Regions from separate parts of the Homo sapiens genome. Here region 2 is linked to region 1. The links are contacts of gene promoters, found by promoter capture Hi-C in blood cells and fetal thymus (Javierre and others, 2016). All regions are on one chromosome and are shown on one strand. The core of a region is centred on a gene start or on the middle of the fragment in contact, and the rest is flanking DNA. Distances in the headings are between cores, read along the strand shown. Region 1 holds the start of SPTAN1 (spectrin alpha, non-erythrocytic 1). Region 2 has its middle 2.3 kb from the start of SET.

Region 1 (2,811 bases), core at 116-2,615:
CTGACTGCACAGGAATGATCTGGGTGTTACTCCCAGTGGCTGCGGCCCAGCTGTCACCGGAATGGGGATAGGGAAAGGGCTTCCTAATCCAGGGCTTCTGGCTACAGAGTTTAGAGCCAGGACCTTAAACTGCTAGGACTTTAAGTATCAGAAATTCTGAGAATCTTATTTTTCTCTTTCTGCACCCCAGCAGCCACCCGCATCAAAATGCCTCCCTTTCCTATTTGAAGGCAATACACATACGGTTGCAAAGGGAAGGTTCTGACTGCTGAGATGTAAATCCTAGCTCTTCCAATTGGTAGCTGCCTGACCTGGGCCAAGAGACTTAGCCTACATGAGCATTATGTAAGAGTGCCCATTTGTAAAATGGGAAAACATCTCATAAAATTATTGCAAAGATTAAGAAATGAAAAGGTAACACGAAATACTTAGCATAGTGCCTAGTACACAAGGCAAGTTCGATTAATTGTGCCAGAAAGAACCTTAATGTCTTGTTTATGAAATAGGATGAATGTAGCCTATTCCACTGGCGACCTGTGAGAAAGCTTTTGTTGCAGGAATGTAAGAAATTATTATTTTGCCGCTGCCGTTTCCTCCCCCATAATCTCCAAGAACATAAGAAATTAACTCTCCAAATCCCAGAATGACAGCTTTATGCCCCAAATTAGTCGACTTAATTTTTTTTCTGATTCGGATTTGGCCTTTTCCTCTCACCACCTCCTCAAACCCGGGGCCCCAAATCATCCGCGTCTTCTTGACCCCAGCCCCCACCGAATTAGGCTGACTTGGGACCCCAGCGCCAGCCTCCTCCTCGGGAAAGTGAGCAGGAAGAGACGCACTCGGGTGATCTCACCCTTTGGGACTGGGCGTTTTTCCGGCCGGGGCGCGCAGCATCCCCAGCCAGACTGCAGCGATACCCCCGCCCCGCCCTTCTCCGCAGTCCTGGAAGAGCTCCCAGGGCGGAGTGGTGCGATGCAGACGACTGTCCGCAGGGCGGGCGGTGGCGGGGCGCAAGCTGCGGGGAGGGAGGTGAGGCGGGAGCGTCTCTACCGCCAGGGCGTAGGCAGTGACCTCACTGCACCATCACCCCTCACCCCTTGCGCGCGCCCCATTTCCCCATCCTCCCGCGGCCCGCCCCTCGCTCACCTCTTCCCCCGCATTGTCGCTTCGGCTCCTTCCGGGATCGCTCGGCCCTTTCCGCCGGGCGGTCGGGCGGCGAGCCGGCGGGAGCACCGCCCCCTTTGCTCCGCCGGCGCGCTCCCCCACCCCTCGCGCAGCGCCGGGGCGCTTCCCCCGGCGCTCGCGCCCGCCCGCCGCGGGAGCGCGCGTAGCCGCTTATAAAAGAGGCGGGGCGCGCGCGTCGCCGCCACTACCCGCTGCGGAGTGAACGGTGTGGAGCGGAGGCCGCGGAGGCTCCTCGGTCCTTCAGCACCCCTCGGCCCGACGCACCCACGCCCCTCACCCCCCGAGAGCCGGTGAGAGGGGCAGCCGGGGAGCTCCGGGAGGGAGCGGGGCCCCGGGCAGCCGACCCCCGGGTGGGAGCTGGGCAGCTCTTCAGGCGGGGCGGGGCCGGCGCGCGGACAGGTGAGCCGGGCGGGCCGCGGGGCTGCCTCCATTCGGCTGAGTGGGGGAAGCCGCTGCCGCTGCTTTTGTGGCGCGTGGGCTGCGGAGGAGCAGCCGGGCCGAGGCTCGGCGCCGCCGCTGGAATGTCACTGACGGGGGGAGGGGGCGCGAGGCCGCCGGGTCCCTCCCAACCACCCCCAAGCCTGGCTGCGGCGCGGCCCTGCCCTGCCCCATCCGGCTGCGGCAGGTGGGTGGGGGCTCCCTCGTCGGGATCTTCGCCAGCCGCCTCCCTGCAGAACGCTCCCCGCACCGCCCCCGGTCCCTTCCCTCGGCCGGGAGCGACTTCTGCAGCTCGTTCTTCCGAATCGCACCAGCAATGCCGGCCAGCCGTAGAGGGAGGAAGAGCCCGGGGAGCCCGAGCATAGCGTAAACGGCTCTCTGACCTTAATTTCATCCTGCATGGCGAATCTCTGCCGTCTCTCTGAACGCAGAAGGGTCTGAGACTGGCCGTCTCCTTTTCTTTCCTTGTAATAAACATTTTTCTTTCTTCCTAGTTGTGATTTGCTTGTAAATAATAGGTAAATGCAGTGCTTGCATGGTATGTGGCTCAAATCAAATAACTTAATAGCTTAGCGTTCTTGTTTGTGTGTGTGTTTCCTGGGACTGGGTCTTTCGAGTCGAGATACAGTGTCAAAAATTCTACCATACCACTGTTGAATGATAGAACAGTCTTTTGTTTGAAAGCTGTCCCTGAGAATTTGATTAGACGCTTCCCCTAGAACATCGCTTTCAAAAGTCTCTGATGTACTAGAGTAAAATATATTTTAAATAAGCGCCTTGTTAAAAGTTGAATATGTTTTAAATGAAAAGCCTAAATAGCTCAGAAAGCTGGGTTGAGATGATGCTTGAACTGTTCCAACATCTAATCAGATCTCTTTTATATAATAGATCCTAAAATATTTAAGCCCTTTGTTCTGTCTTCATCATGTTATTTTAGAAAAACTTACCATCATGGCTGTTCGGGAAGAACAGGAGAGAGGCCATATGAAGTATTTTCATAATGTGTTGAGAAATTGCGTCGTCATAGCAATTGGCCTTAAGTAAAACAGAATGTATCAAAGATGGAAGGGTGGGGGTGTCTTGGAGCCAGGAAACAGAAAATCTTGGAAATAGCAGGAGGAACACTCAGCTATATGAAGCCATTGAGTCAAGGTTCCGACTCCTTAACTAGTCGTTTATTTTCCCTTT
Region 2 (2,811 bases), core at 105-2,604, 130 kb after region 1:
GCACTGATGGCATGCCAGAAGCTGTGCCAAGCACTTCTCTATCCTCACAGCCGTATGCTGTGGACATCCCAATTTTACAGATCAGAACAGGAGGCTCAAAGAGATGTGTATGTGTCTGTGGCGGGGGAGATGTTCCAGGCTCTGGAGATTTTTTGGTCTGTGCTTGGGACACTGCAGCACTGTGGGGGAATGCCAGCCTCTCTCTGTTCCAGTCTTTCTGGCGGTGGGGTTCTGTCCTCTTCAAAGGGAGCCGGGGGCCGGGCGCGGTGGCTGACGCCTGTAATCCCAGCACTTTGGGAGGCCGAGGTGGGCAGATCACCTGAGGTCAGAAGTTCAAGACCAGCCTGGCCAACATGGCTAAACCCCATCTCTACCAAAGACAGTTAGCCAGGCGTGACGATGCATGCCTGTAATCCCAGCTACTTGGGGGGCTAAGGCAGGAGAATTGCTTGAACTCCGGAGGCGGAGGTTGCAATGAGCCGAGTTCGTGCCATTGCACTCCAGCCTGGGCGACAAGAACAACAACAACAACAACAAAAAAAAAAACAACCAGAGGGGCCAGGAGGAGAGGAGAGAGGCAAGGGAGGAATTCTGAGTGAGGGGAGAGGCCAAGAAGAGAGAATGCAGAGCTTCTGGTGTTGGAGACGGGGAGAGAGCAGAGTCCTAAGAGTGGGTGAATAACCTCTCAGTGTGCCCCCGGCTCGCCTGTGTTTACTCACACCCCTGGCCCTTTTGCTTTCTCTTTCTCTTCAACTTCCTAGTGTGCTCATATTTATCTTGAGAAGCACTGTGTGGGGAAGGGCAGGAAAAGAGGGGCAGGGAGGTGGCAGGGAGGGTTGGGAGGCCAGAAAGGGAACCTGAAAGCCCACTCCCCCATCAGAAGGCATTACAGGGTTCCCTGGGACCCCTGCAGGTGCTTGGGAAACAGGCAGATAAGGCACTTAGGAGACATTGTGGGTCAGGAGTGACCCTATGGGTCAGGCTTTGAGGATGGAAGCAGCCAGCCCTTGGCATAGTGTTCTCAGACAGACTCAGCCCAGGAGCGGGTCGTGAAATCAATTTGGTGGGGTGTGACCTGCATTTTAAATAGGAAATTAGAATCACATCACCCTTGGTAAGGGTAAGTTTTGGTTTGTGTGTGCTAGGTCATGATGTCAAAAGTACTTCTGACTGTTGGTCACATTAAAAAAACTGAGGCAGGGTGCGATGGCTAACTCTTGTAATCCCAGAGCTCTGGAAGGCTGAGGCTGAAGGATGGTTTGAGCTCAGGAGTTTGAGACCAGCCTGGGCAACATGGTGATACCTCCTCTCTACAAAAGATAAAAACAAAATTAGCCAGGCAAGGTGGCAGTGGTGCTTGCCTGTGGTCCCAGCTACTCAGAAGGCTGAGGTGTAAGAATCCCCAGAGCCCAGGAGGTCAAGGCTGCAGTGAGCCATGGTTCTGGGCGACAGAGAGAGACCCTGTCTCATAATAATAACAACAATAAAAATAGAAAAACTGTTTTAAGGTAAGGGCTTTGTCAATTGCTACTTGGTTTAGAATCTTGGTTCTGTCACTTGCAACAAAGTTTAGTTTATGCTAGGCACAGTGGGTGGCTCATGCCTGTAGTCCCAGCACTTTGGGAGGCCGAGGTGGGCAGATCACCTGAGGTCGGGAGTTCGAGACCAGCCTGGCCAACATGGTGAAACCCCGTCTCTACTAAAAAATACAAAAATTAGCTTGGCATGGTAGTGGGCGCCTGTAATCCCAGATACTCGGGAGGCTAAGACACTCACCGTGCACTGTCTTGAACATGAAAGATGCTGCTTGAGCTTTAAGAGCTGATAGTGGGCCGAGCTCAGTGGCTCATGCCTGTAATCTCAGCACTTTGGGAGGCAGAGGCAGGTGGATCACCTGAGGTCAGGAGTTTGAGACCAGTCTGGCCAACATGGTGAAAACCTGTCTCTACCAAAAAATACAAAAATTAGCAGGGCGTGGTGACTCACATCTGTAATCCTAGCAACTCAGGATGCTGAGGCAGGAGAATCACTTGAACCCGGGAGGCGGAGGTTGCAGTGAGCTGAGATGGCACCACTGCACTCCAGCCTGGAAGACAGAATGAGACTTGGTCCCCTCCCCCACCAAAAAAAAAAAAAAAAAAAAAGAGCCAATGGTAAAGTGTGAGTTCTGGAAGGCAGAATTCCAACCCCAAGTTCTGGTTAAAAATGTCCAAAGAGAGATTTCAGGTATTTTTTTGTTTTTGTTTTAGAGATAGGGTCTTGCTCTGTCACTCAGGCTTCAGTGCAGTGGCTGCATTGGGGCTCATTGAAGCCTGGAATTCCTGGGCCCAAGCGATCCTCCTGCCTTGGCCTCCCAAAGTGTTGGGATAACAGGAGTGAGCTATTGCATGGCCAGGATTTGAAATTGGCCAGCGTATCACTAAAATCAACAAATGGTACTGGCCGGGCGCAGTGGCTCCCGCCTGTAATCCCAGCACTTTGGGAGGACGAGGTGAGTGGATCACCCCAGGTCAGTAGACCAGCCTGGCCAAGGTGGTGAAACTCCATCTCTACTAAAAATACAAAAATTAGCCGGGCATGGTGGCACGTGCCTGTAGCCCCAGCTACTCGGGAGGCCGAGGCAGGAGAATTGCTTGAACCCGAGAGGCAGAGCTTGCAGTGAGCCAAGATTGCGCCACTGCACTCCAGCCTGGGGGACAGAGCAAGACTCCCGTCTCAAAACAAACAAACAAATGCTACTAATCAGGGTTTTTCTGGCTTTTTATGGTTCATGTCTTGGGGTGCTGGAGGGACAGAATGTGGGGCATCCGC

Evidence for each region. Contacts are between HindIII fragments. The CHiCAGO score rates a contact against its expected background, and 5 or more counts as called.
Region 2: a contact is called between a fragment that was not itself captured here and the fragment with the promoter of SPTAN1 in region 1, in 1 of 17 cell types (M2 macrophages). The highest score is 5.6, in M2 macrophages.

The regions. Positions count from the first base shown.
Region 1 is chr9:128,551,222-128,554,032 of GRCh38, forward strand. It overlaps SPTAN1 (spectrin alpha, non-erythrocytic 1), which reads left to right and starts at 1,366. Exons shown (of 57, transcript NM_001130438.3): 1 at 1,366-1,475. It overlaps LOC101929270 (a long non-coding RNA gene), which reads right to left and starts at 1,192. Exons shown (of 4, transcript NR_188457.1): 1 at 1,147-1,192. RefSeq lists a silencer at 1,010-1,779. The HindIII fragment of the contact is 3,549 bases long and covers 544-2,811 here.
Region 2 is chr9:128,685,495-128,688,305 of GRCh38, forward strand. It overlaps a transcript of SET not described here. Among named protein-coding and RNA genes, the nearest start is that of SET, 2.3 kb to the right of the region's middle. RefSeq lists enhancers at 445-534, 575-674, 2,025-2,811. The HindIII fragment of the contact is 3,602 bases long and covers 1-2,811 here.